2 separate regions of the Homo sapiens genome follow, and region 2 is linked to region 1. The links are contacts of gene promoters, found by promoter capture Hi-C in blood cells and fetal thymus (Javierre and others, 2016). All regions are on one chromosome and are shown on one strand. The core of a region is centred on a gene start or on the middle of the fragment in contact, and the rest is flanking DNA. Distances in the headings are between cores, read along the strand shown. Region 1 holds the start of LINC02724 (long intergenic non-protein coding RNA 2724). Region 2 overlaps SF1 (splicing factor 1).

Evidence for each region. The method cuts DNA at HindIII sites, captures the fragments that hold promoters and counts their contacts. A CHiCAGO score of 5 or more calls a contact.
Region 2: a contact is called between a fragment that was not itself captured here and the fragment with the promoter of LINC02724 in region 1, in 1 of 17 cell types (M1 macrophages). The highest score is 5.6, in M1 macrophages.

What each region holds. Positions count from the first base shown.
Region 1 is chr11:64,445,733-64,452,054 of GRCh38, reverse strand. It overlaps LINC02724 (long intergenic non-protein coding RNA 2724), which reads right to left and starts at 2,998. Exons shown (of 2, transcript NR_073177.1): 1 at 2,403-2,998; 2 at 398-2,158. RefSeq lists a silencer at 2,278-2,473, a cis regulatory region at 2,251-2,520 and an enhancer at 2,410-2,659. The HindIII fragment of the contact is 9,068 bases long and covers 2,851-6,322 here.
Region 2 is chr11:64,762,771-64,769,092 of GRCh38, reverse strand. It overlaps SF1 (splicing factor 1), which reads left to right. Exons shown (of 13, transcript NM_004630.4): 8 at 1-71; 9 at 807-987; 10 at 1,249-1,522; 11 at 1,842-1,901; 12 at 2,014-2,193; 13 at 2,938-4,487. The coding sequence ends at 3,275. Among named protein-coding and RNA genes, the nearest start is that of PYGM, 6.0 kb to the right of the region's middle. RefSeq lists enhancers at 1,610-2,483, 2,484-3,356, 3,357-4,231, 5,156-5,205, 5,256-5,355 and 2 more. The HindIII fragment of the contact is 4,830 bases long and covers 752-5,581 here.

The sequences.
Region 1 (6,322 bases), core at 1,749-4,248:
CCATCTCCATAGGCTGGGCAGGGCAGGCTCCCCCGCGGCTGTCCCAACCCTGCTGTCCATTCTGATCCTCTCACCCCCTTGCTTGTGACAGACAGTTAAGTGCTGCCCTTTGACCTGTGCTACTCGGGAATCCAGTTGTCCCTGTGGCTATGGGAGAGCTCAGATCCATGGCAGCCCACCCCTGCCAGGCCCGGGCAACCCTCACAGGGCTGCTCAGCAACGCCAATGTCTCCTCGACAGCTCAGGCCTTATCATTTGGGTAAAGAGCTGGAACCTTCCAAAGAACATGGCCAGCTGGTGGGTTTTCCACCCTGTTTCGTGGTGAACAGGTCTGTGCAAATCTACCTGCAAAGGCCGAGGGAGCTGAGAGGCTGAAGAAAGAGGCTGACAAATCCAGTTTCTTGTAAAGAAATATTTAATAGGGACTTAGGAGCAGAAGCGATGTTCCGGGCTGCCACAAAATGGTAGATCCCCACATCTGCCCTGCAGAAAGTACTTTTATGTAGCAAGCTTTTAGGGTAAAACATGTGCAGGTGGCCATATCTCCGATTTTAATGCAAAACTCATAGCCACTTGGGGAGGGGGTTAGCTAAGCATCTTTACAAAGGGTTATGTATGGTACAGGCATTGTTTAAAGAGCTTACTGCAGAGCAGCTTGGTATATGGGGGTGAAACATTCATCATCATATGGCGGTTTTAAGATGGCATCACTCTTGTCACACTGTTTTCCTGTACAACCTACAATAGAAGAGCCATTCTGGCGTGTCCACTTCTCTGAGACTTTGCATACCTTCCTCCAGGGCTGTTCTGACATCTCCACTTCATCGCCTATGCACTATCACTTCTTCCAAGCTTTCAAGAACTGCCTCAAGTGCTGGGCACTGTGGCTCACACCTGTAATCCCAGCACTTTGGGAGGCCAAGGTGGACAGATCACTTGAGGTCAAGAGTTCGAGACCAGCCTGGCCAACATGGCAAAATCCCATCTCCACTAAAAAAAAAAAAAACAATACATTATCTGGGCATGGTGGTGCATGCCTGTAATCCCAGGTACTCGGGAGGCTGAGACAGGAGGATCGCTTGAACCTGGGAAGTGGAGGTTGCAGAGCCAAGATCGCACCACTGTACTCCAGCCTGGGCGACAGAGAGAAATTCTGTCTCAAAAAAAAAGAACCCTCCCAAGCAACATATTAGAATCTTCCCAGGGCCTTTTTAGGGGTTAGGGAGTCTTTCTGTACTAATTAACTCTCCAGTCTCCAGCTACTATGCAGCCTCCCTTGATCTAGAACCTTCAGAGTCCACATCTAGGAACATTCTCTAGACCCGGCTGGTCCCTGCTGGCTTGCTCCCACCACTCCTCTGCTTGTTAATCCCTCTTGGTCCCTGGCATGCAAAGCACATCCTTGGTCAGGTCATGCTGAGATATGATCCAGCTTTGAGCCTGGTGGTCAGGAGGGGAGGTGGGGACAGATGCTGGAGAGAGGAACTCCTTATCTTGTAAGGTCCCTTCCCTTAGTTTCTGCATGGTCTTTAAGCAAAAGAGGACCTCTGTCTTCCAACAGAGGCAATGGGTCACTTCTGCAGGCCAGGAGGTACAGGAGAATCTGGGGGTTCAATGTCTCAAGAGTGTCTCCTCAGATAGTCCATCTCAGATATCAGGGACCCCACCCTTCCCTTTGGGGCCCTGACTTTGGAGAAGGGACTTCCCTGGGCTGGAAATTTGGCCTTCTCTGGAGTCCTGCACCTTGTCTTCTGCCCTCTGACCCCTGGCTATAGAAGAGAAGCATTTCGTTAAATTCTGCCAAGGAATCCTGACTTTGCTTTAAATTGGTGATGCGTGGCCCTGAACTTGTCATTTTCCCTCTTCTAAGTGTCAGTAGTATTCAGTGACAGCCTCCCCACTCCACGTCCTTCTCACGGCTATTTTCCCATCTGTCTCTCAACATCAGTGATATTAAACGAGCCGGGCATCCCCGTCCACCTGAGTCCTGTCCCAGGTGACCACAGGCGGAGGCCTGAGCAGCTGCTCTGCCACCTCGTGCCAGGGGCCTCCGCAACGGGCTCCAGTCACCAGGGGCCAGCGGGGCATCCTCCTGCAGCATCCCGTCCTTGGGGCCAGCTTCCTGGGGCCCCTCCTGCTGTTCCCTGCCTTCAGCTGTCTGAAAACAGAGCCCAAGACAGGGATTTACTAGGGGAGGGCTCATCCTGGGACAAGCCGCCCAGGATGTGAGGGCAGAGGGGCGGGGAAGGAGAAAGGACTCGGTAAAGGCGTGGTCCCAGGGTAAATACAGCTCTGGCAGATATGCAGGGGGCCCTGGGGCAGAGGTATCGCCATCTAGAGGCAGGCGAGGGAACAGTCTTTTGTACAGTTAGCCGTGGGCTGTGGGCGTCGCCTGAACGTACCAGGTATTGTGGCTCCATTGGCTGAGGATGCTTCTCCAGCGAAGGAGGCAGGGAGCCGGGGAAGTGGGGTGGGGTCGCGACACCGACAGCAGCTGCCAGACCAGCCATGCTGCGCTCAGCTCCCTCAGGCTGTCACTCTTAATCATCATGTCACTATCTCTGGGGCGTGTCAGTCACCATCAACGACGTGTCCCCCAAGCTGCAGAGGACGCAAATCCAGCTCTCCAAGAGGCTCTGTTGGCCCTCTCCACATGGGCTTGAGGTCAGGGGTGGGGGCACGTTCGGACCGCCCTCCTGCCTCTCTGAAGAAGATCCTCCAAGTCCCGGCTCCAGCTCTCCGGCCTCTTTGGCAGCTGGGCGGGTGGCCATCCAGGAGGCCCGTTCTCCATGCCCAGTTTGGCAAGGCTCCTTGGGACGCCGGGCTCGCTGCCCCTGTTTTCTTAAAGCTTCGGCCCAAAGGGACCCAGAGTCTGAGGTTAACACTCCGTCATCCCAGCGTGAGCGGCGCCTGACTCCAGCTCTCGACTCCCCCACCTCCTATCCCCTGCGCCGGGCTCACCCTGCACTCCCACCTGCAAATCAGCAGAGCAGAGGCCAGCGCTCCCGACGTCCAGCACCACCCCAAGCGAGGCAGGGGGAGCTGAGTGGCCGGGAGCGCCATCTAGTGGGTGCCAGGGGCGAGTCCCCGAAAGAGACTGGAGAGCCACGACTCGGGCAGGGCAGGATGGTGTCCCAGGGAGGGCCGGGGCCCAGGCGCTGGACAGCAGAGGACATAAAGGGAGAGGCATGGGAGAGCGAGGAGCCAGGGTGCTTCCGGGGCGCATGAGCCCCACCCCAGCCTGCCCCTGCCCTCGTAACCAGATGACTCGGCTCAGGCAGGACACACCACGTCCAGTCTCTGTCCCCTCTCCAGACTCTTGGGAAAGTGTCACTTAAAATCCATTTGGGTCTGGTGTTTGCTTTATTCCAAGGAAAGGGGTAAGGAAAAATTCAGAAAAGGGGCGAGGGTCTCCCCTCTCCACAGTGGCAGTCAGGGGAATAGTGACATTCACCCCCTCCCCCAACCTGGTCTTGAACGTGGCAGGGAAGAGAACTGAGCCACCTGTCACCCAGAGGGGGAGGGGGAAGGTCAGAACTCCAGCCTTCCCACAGCAGACACGCCTGCGGGGCAGGAAGCAGGCAGGCTCCACGCAGTGTAGACATGTGCACTCACACGGATGTTAACAGTCTGGAAGAAACTGACCTGGCTGTGAATAGAGGCTCTCTCATGGGGAAGGGGCAGAAGATGGAGCTTTCACTTCTCCATTTATACACTTCTCCAAAATGTGGTGGGACCATGAGGAAACTGCACTTTCAGTTTTGATCTCTTTTTGTATTTTTTCAGTTAAAATGCAATTGGGAACAATGGGGTGTTAAGTGCCTCAGTGTGGAAGGCTGCGGCATCACCATTGAAATGCTGTATCAGACCTGGATTGGATCCACCCTCGACTCAGGGCTGTGCAAACTGGGACCCAGATCCCGCGCTGTGGGAACGGAGCCCTGCTCCGCTGTTTACATGTTGTCTCTGGCTGCGGCCTCGCTGTGACAGCAGAGTTGAGGAATTGCCACAGAGACTGTTATAGCCCACAAAGCCCAAAATATTTACTCGCTGGCTCTTTATGGAAAAAGTTTGCCAACTATCAAATTACAAGAAATACAGGGACTGGGGAGCCTGCTCAACAAAGCTAAGGGGACGTGACCAGCAAAATCCAGACTGCAGGCAACCATAGGACAAAGCGCCAGTTTCTTCAATACGTAATTTGCAACAGCAACCTGCTTACTAGAGGCCAGGAAGGGGAGGGGGAAAGGAGGGGATGAAGAAAGGTTGATGAGTGGGTACAAATACACACTTACATAGACGAAATAACATCTGGTGTTCAATAGATCAGTAGGGTGACATTAATCGATTGTACACTTCAAAATTGCTAGAAAAGAATAATCCTAATGTTCCTGGCACAAGGAAAAGATAAATATTTAAGATGATGGACATCCCAATTACCCTGATTTGATTATAGGAATGTATCCAATTATCATGCACATCCCGAAACTAGATACAGCTAGTGTATTTCAACTTTTATAAAGAAAAGAAAAAAACGGGCGGGGTGCAGTGGCTCGCGCCTGTAATCCCAGCATTTTGGGAGGCTGAGGTGGGCAGATCACTTGAGGTCAGGAGTTCCAGACCTGCCTGGCCAACATGGTGAAACCCCTTCTGTACTAAAAATACAAAAATTAGCCAGATGTGGTGGTGTGCACCTGTAATCCCAGCTGCTCCGGAGGCTGAGGCAGGAGAATCGCTTGAACCCGGGAGGCAGAGGTTGCAGTGAGCAAGACTCCATCTGAAAAGAAAAGAAAAGAAATGAAAAGAAAAGACAGAGGGGGCCCATAGATTTAAAAGAGGCTGAGCAGTGACAGATAATAGAAGTGTGGATGGTAAGAAAATAAAGTCTCATTTTTCATGGTAGCAAGTGAGATCTCAAATCCGAGATCAGAAAGTGAAGAAAATCAGGAATTAAGAGTAGAAGCCATTTCACTTAGAAATGAAGGTTTAAGAAAAAGATGAGGCCGGGCGCAGTGGCTCACGCCTGTTATCCCAGCACTTTGGGAGGCCGGGGCAGGTGGATCACCTGAGGTTGGGAATTCAAGACCAGTCTGACCAACATGGTGAAATTCCATCTCTACTAAAAATACAAAAATTAGCCGGGCGTGGTGGTGTATGCCTGTAGTCCCAGCTACTCAGGAGGCTGAGGCAGGAGAATCACCTGAACTCGGCAGGCGGAGGTTGCAGTGAGCCAAGATCGCACCATTGCACTCCATCCTGGGCAACAAAAGCAAAACTCCATCTCGAAAAAAAAAAGAAGAAAGAAAGAAAAAGATGAAACATCTACTCAAAAACTGAAAGTGGGTGCCCCTAATGAGGGAGTTTTGGGAATCAGAGAAATGGAGCAGAGAACTCTTTTTTATTTATATAATTTTAAGCCTAGTAGTAGTGTTTGAATTTTTTAATTTTGTATACGTTTAAACAAAATATTTAAATATTAATATTTGAATCCAATAACAACTTAAGTTTTTTAACTTAATTAAATATATTTATAATCTTGGATTAAGGAAAGCCTTTTTAAACATGACCTGAGGCTGGGTACTTTGGAAGGCCAAGGTGGGCGGATCACTTGAGGTCATAAGTCGAGACCAGCCTGGCCAACCAACGTGGTGAAACCCCATCTCTATTAAAAATACAAAAATTAGCCAGATGTAGTGGTGGTCGTCTGTAATCCCACCTACTCAGGAGGCTGAGGCAGGAGAATCACTTCAACCCAGGAGGCAGTGAGCTGTGATTGTACCACTGCACTCCAGCCTAGGCGAAAAAGCAAGACTCTGTCTCAAAATAAATAAATAAATAAAAATAAATAAATAAACCTGACCTGAAAACCAGAAACTAAATGGTTGATCTATGCGGCTGCATGAGAATCTCAAACTTCTCTCTGAGAAAGCTATTATATATTATATATATAATATATATAACTATACAACTATACACACACACACACACACACACACACACACATATATATATATGTATGGTTGAAAGACTACTGACAACTGGAAAAAAGATTTGTAACAGATAATACAGATGGAGGGTTAATATGATAGTTTTTTCTCGCAAGCAACAGAAACTGACCTTAGCTGATTTAAGCAGAAAAGGGATGAGTATCAAGTACCACCACAGACTTTCTGGGTGGGCTGGAGAACCAGGCTTGCAGGCCTCCCAGACAGGAACAGAAACTGTGCTCCAGCTGGTCAAGTAAAGACACCATGGCTACCTTTTTACTGGGTCCTGCGCACTGCCACGGATCAGCTGCCATTGCTTTCACTCTCTCTGGAAT
Region 2 (6,322 bases), core at 1,917-4,416, 320 kb before region 1:
ATTACCAACACCACAGTGTGTACCAAGTGTGGAGGGGCTGGCCACATTGCTTCAGACTGTAAATTCCAAAGGTGAGGGGCTGGCTCTTGCGGTTTCCTGGTAGCCTGCGATGTGCAGGACAACTTTTCTGGCACATTCATTGGTTGCTGTTAATCTTACCAAGAGAAACATCCTTTCTGTTAGTGTGGTCTGTAATGGTGTGATTTAAAGCCCAGGATGATTAGAAATAGGCTGTACAGATACCCCTGTTTGTTTGTCTTGAGCCCAAGAAAACTGGAAGTTTCCATTTTGGGTATGTTTTTACTGGGGCTCAATAGGAAATTCACTGCTTTTGCTGTTCAGAATTGGTTCAAGAAGACTAAGCAATCTCTACAGATTTCTGACCAGTTGCAAGTCAGCACTCGATATCAACACTTTCTGACTGGCTGGCGAATATGTAAGGTTTTGTTTAGGAAGTTCGTTCTGGCAGTTGTGCCAGTCTTGCATAGATTTTCCTTTCCTCAAACTGGGAATGAAGTTTGATGAAATTGACTTGAGAGAACCTGTGCTTCATCGGTGCTCAGGGTCTCCTGTGCTCTTCGCCCAGGGGCCCCTCTACTCTGGTGATCCCAGATGCAGAACTGGGCACGAAACTGAAGATCTGATGAGACTGTTGAGAGCCATGCCCAGTAAGGGGTTAGAAAGATGTGTGATGATCTGGTGATTGAATTCTTCAGAACTTTCCATATGTTGGTTCCTCAGGATAAAAGCTTCCTTCTTAACAAGTTTTTCCCCTTTCTCTGTTTGTGTCCCCCACCCCACTTCAGGCCTGGTGATCCTCAGTCAGCTCAGGATAAAGCACGGATGGATAAAGAATATTTGTCCCTCATGGCTGAACTGGGTGAAGCACCTGTCCCAGCATCTGTGGGCTCCACCTCTGGGCCTGCCACCACACCCCTGGCCAGCGCACCTCGTCCTGCTGCTCCCGCCAACAACCCACCTCCACCGGTGAGCCTGGGGGCTGGCTCTCTTGGTCTGGCTTCCCCATTCTCTACTGCAGAGACTGGGAGCTATGGCCACGTGGTTTGGGTAGAGCAGACAATGGATGTGGATGGCAACATTGTTCTTCCGGGATCTCAGGCCAGTTTGGGGACTTCTCACTTCGGGAAGACCTTGTTCTTGTGTTCTGGTCCTGTGTCATAACCCGAAGAACAATGTTGCCACTAGGAGGCGCAGGCAGGGACGTTGGCAGGAAATGCTCTCACGTAGTCTCTCATGTCTACCACCCAGAGCCGCCCACCCTGGATGAATTCTGGCCCTTCAGAGAGTCGGCCCTACCACGGCATGCATGGAGGTGGTCCTGGTGGGCCCGGAGGTGGCCCCCACAGCTTCCCACACCCATTACCCAGCCTGACAGGTGGGCATGGTGGACATCCCATGCAGCACAACCCCAATGGACCCCCACCCCCTTGGATGCAGCCACCACCACCACCGATGAACCAGGGCCCCCACCCTCCTGGGCACCATGGCCCTCCTCCAATGGGTAAGTAAGTGTCAGACCAGAAACCTTGGGGGCTTTGGGATAAGCAAGGGGTTACGTCAGGTCGCTGTTGGCTAGAAGCAGCTCTCAAGTGGCTGGGCAATGTGCTGGGTCTGCCTGGCTTGCCAGGGTTGTGGCTCTGGAAGGAGCAAGACTCCATTCTGGTTCAGGGAGTGATTCTGTGTTGGGTAAGCACAGACCTGCCTTTTACAGGCATGGTTTTCAGAACTCGCGTAAGGATAGCAACTGAGGTTATCACAGGGGTGGCTTCCCTGGCCAGTTCCAATGTCCTGCTAAGTCCCTGCTCTTTCCTTCCATCAAGATCAGTACCTGGGAAGTACGCCTGTGGGCTCTGGGGTCTATCGCCTGCATCAAGGAAAAGGTAATGGCTGTCTGCTGGCTGTGGGTCTTCACCTAGGCTTGGGTGAGTGGGGGTTCTGGCCCAAGTCCCCGCCTTTCCCTGAGGCCTCATCTTTGCCTCCACCTGTCCACAGGTATGATGCCGCCACCACCTATGGGCATGATGCCGCCGCCGCCGCCGCCTCCCAGTGGGCAGCCCCCACCCCCTCCCTCTGGTCCTCTTCCCCCATGGCAACAACAGCAGCAGCAGCCTCCGCCACCCCCTCCGCCCAGCAGCAGTATGGCTTCCAGTACCCCCTTGCCATGGCAGCAAAGTGAGTAGAATATTTTGGGCTTGTGGGGGTGGGTGGGATGGGGGTGGGGCTGACAGGAACCATAGAGCCTCACACAAGCAGGCAGGTGTCTTGGGATGAGCCCCTGGGCTCTGCTGGGGTTGTAAACAGAAAGGGCCTCCTGGTCCAGGGGGTGGAGGGGCATCTTGAAGAGGAGAGCTGATGTTTGGTGTGGTTGTGTCTGGGGAGAGGTTCGTGGGGGCCTGGAGGGGAGCCTGCTATTGTAGGTAGGGGGCCAGAAGTCCAGACCCTCGCAGGCTGAGTGAGCGGCTGGCTGGACTGAGCCTGGTGCATATGGGTCGAGTGGGATGGTGCATGCTTGCTCTGGCAAGGGCTGCGATTGGGGTGAGAGACTGCAGAGGTGGGACTGGGCAGTGGGGAGACAGCAGCTGTGGCCTTGAGGTTGAATGTGCCGTTCGGTGGTGGCGGCGGCTGGGCGGAGGGACATCAGAGCTGTTCTTGTGTCTGGTACCTTCCCCTCAGCCCTTCCAGGGGCATTGGTGACAAAGGGCTTACTCTGTTAAGCCCAGAGACCTCGAGGCTGACCCCAGGGTAGTCCTGCCCACCCCTCCACTCCCCATCACCAGCCCCGCCCACCCGCCCCCCACCACCGTACCGCATGCCAAGCAAGGAGCAGGCGCCCCTCGCCCCCATCCCAAGGCAGCAGCCGCAGACAGCCGCGGTGTGCCCCCGCGCGTGTGACCTTGGGCTTCTTTACCACCCCAGATACGACGACTACCACCACGAGCGCTGGCACAGGGTCCATCCCGCCATGGCAACAGCAGCAGGCGGCTGCCGCAGCTTCTCCAGGAGCCCCTCAGATGCAAGGCAACCCCACTATGGTGCCCCTGCCCCCCGGGGTCCAGCCGCCTCTGCCGCCTGGGGCCCCTCCCCCTCCGCCGCCTCCACCGCCTGGTTCCGCCGGCATGATGTATGCCCCGCCCCCTCCTCCTCCGCCTCCCATGGACCCTTCTAACTTTGTCACCATGATGGGCATGGGGGTGGCGGGCATGCCGCCCTTCGGGATGCCTCCAGCTCCCCCACCGCCTCCACCACAGAACTAGACTTGTTTTTTAAGAAAATATATATTATATATAGAGAGAATTGGTCTCGTTTAAACACGCCGAACCTCACCATATGGAGCCAGACATTGGGACGCACGCATGTGATTGTGTGTGCACGCATGTGTGTGTGTGCACGCACTGGGCTGGGCCAAGCGACTGAGGATTCGCTTGGGAACGGGCAGGTGGTAGTAGGGGCGCCAGCTTGGGCTCTCCTGGCGCCCCGTAGCATCGAGTGTCTTCTTTGTCTTCTTTCTCTCCTCACCCAACTCCCTTTGCCTCTCCCCAAACCGGGCCGCCAGGATCCCTCCCCGCGGCGGCGATGGCCCGAGCCATGAGAGTGAGGACTTTCCGCGCCCATTGGTGACCCTTCCAGGCAGACAGCCTCAGCAACGCCCCTGGTGGACAGGATGGTTCGGCAAAGCAGCCTGAGTTATTTTTGTGGACGGAATCGGAACACGCTGGCTCCATATCGTGAAATTTTTATTAATTTTTTTCTTTTTCCTTTGTTACTTCTTTATCTTTTCCTTTCTTCAGACTCCGTCCAAGGAGATGCTCTCCCCGGTCTTCTGCTGCAATTTAGATTCCTTTCCCTTCTCTCCAGTTCTCCTTCCCTTACCAAGGAGAGGGGAGCAAATGGTTTTGGGCAAGGGCTTTGGCCATTCATGTCAAGCTGGTTGTGGGTTTTTCAAGGTGCCATAGCCACCCCCAAAGATGTTTGTTTAAAGCGTGGGGTTTTTTAATCTCTGCCACCCTTGTCAAGGGAGTCTTGTAAAGTTGCCGAGGGTAGGTTCATCTCCAGGTTTCGGGATTCCCATCCGTCCTGGCGATCCTGCCAGCAGTGGGTGGGCAGCCTGAGCTCCCTCGGGCTCGCCTGCCAGCCTGGAGTTCTTCCTGTGCTCCTTGATCACCTGAGCTGCCTCAGATTCCATTTGGTCCTCTCCTTCCTGGAAGGCTTCCTTTTATGTTTTGTTTTAATCCCAAATGTCTGAATGTTTTGCAGTGTGTAGGGGTTTGAGCCCCTTGTTCATTCTCCTTCCTTTTTCCTCCCGCTTCCCTCTCCATGAAGTGATTCTGTTGACAATAATGTATACTGCGCGTTCTCTTCACTGGTTTATCTGCAGAAATTTCTCTGGGCTTTTTTCGGTGTTAGATTCAACACTGCGCTAAAGCGGGGATGTTCCATTGAATAAAAGAGCAGTGTGGTTTTCTGGGTCTGCTTCTTTATTTTCTTTTTAATGCCTGCCCCGCCCGGTTTTTCTTTTCACATAAACTTCCTCTACCACCAGCAGCAGCAGCAGCACCAAAGGTGCCTTAACTTTCGTTCAGCACCAGGTCCGGGGGGGTGAGACTGTGGGTGGTTAATTAGGGAAGCCCACCACCTGCCTCCTGTGTGTGGCTTTGGTGGTGGGAGCTCAGTGTGTGGGTGGCTCCACAGTCTCCCCTTTGGTGACTAGTTAACATCGCTGAGAACCAATTTTGCCCCTCCTTGTTCACTGCTCATTTTTCTAGTCTCTGTCCTTTGAAGGCTTTTTCCTGGGGCTCAGACGTCCACGTTTGATGAGCTCCAGTGGTGATTTGTGCCTGGAAGCTGCCACCTAAGGCCCTGGGCCTGGGGAGGCATCAACACTAAAGGTCAAGCCAACTAATCCTGCCTGTCAGGCACAGAGCAGCTAAAATTAAAACCGCCAAGTGGCTTTTTTCCTTCTCTGCTGGTGACTTGCAGCCTGCCAGCGCTGTAGGCTTTGGCGGGGGTCGGGGGGACAGGATAAAGTGCCCCATCTTGTGCTTTGCAAGCACTTTTCAAAGGGTCTTCTGCTTTTTTTCCATGTCTTGGGCGGCGAGTGGGTAGTTACTGTTAGGGTTCCAGAAAAATCCATGTGGAGTCTCCACCAGGTAGTGAGGTCCTCTCCTGGGCAGAGGTGCCTTAGAGCTGCCCTGGTTCCACCTGCCTCTCCTTCCTTCAGGGCGGCTGAGGGACAGTAGGCTCCCCCAGCATCTGGCTGCTGGGGCCAGCAACTGGCCTGGGCTGCTTTCCAGCTGTGAGCTAGGGCTGGCTACTGCTGTTTACTGGGGTGTCTGGTCCCCCGTCCAGGAGGCCTGTGCTTTGCTATGGGTCTGCCAGGCTTGAGGAGCCCTCAGAAGCAAGGCAGGCTCAGTGCGTTTCCCCAGCCAAGCCCTAAACTTCGGCTCACCAAAAGGAGGACATCTTTTTTGCCTTTGTCCTTAAGTGGCAGAATGGGGGCAGGGCCTGGGGCCTGGCTACCCTCTTTGACCTTGGCTTCACCTCATTGCTTCTCCCACAAGCTTGGTTTCCCTGGTGGGCTCATTGGGTGGTTAATTAGCTCTTTGAAGCTCTGGAAGCGGCAAAGTGGCGCTATGTGGGTTTTAGAAATAAAATCAATAAATGACTTAACCACAGCTTAGCTATCTCCTCCGCTTCTCTCCCCCAGGCCAGCTCCATTCCTGTGCTCCCTCCCTTTCTGCTCCCTGCCGTCAGCTTTTGTTAAGGTTTTGGAGAGGAAGTGGCTGACTAAGGCATCAGTCTCCAAGGTGCTAGAGGCCCTGAAATGGAAGAGACAGCAGGAAGGCTTGGCCCTCTGAACCGTGGCAAGCACTTGCCTCTGGCAGAATCAGAGAGAGAAAGGCCTGCCCACCTGTCTTAAGACACCTGGGGTGGGAAAGCAAGCCATTTACTCCATCACATTGTGACAGGGCTGTGCTTGCCCCACCCCCTCTCCTCACGTTCATTTCTGCTGCTGTAGCAGCACTGTCCCCGTCCCTCAAGGCCTGGCAAGGCCTGGCAAGAGGAATGCCAGTGGGGAAAGGTCAGCCTCAGGGCTCTGTTACTGAGGTTCAGCCAAGGGCTCTGGAGAAACCCAGGATTGGTCCAAGGAAGGAGGCCGGGTTTCTAGTTAGAAACTTAGACATAAATAACCTCGAGTGAGTTCAGGTTGTAAAAGTGCTTCAGGGTTCATTAAACCTGCATACACAACACCAAGGAGGGGCGGAGGAAGCAGGGAAACAGATGAGATCGTGCTGCCCAGGTG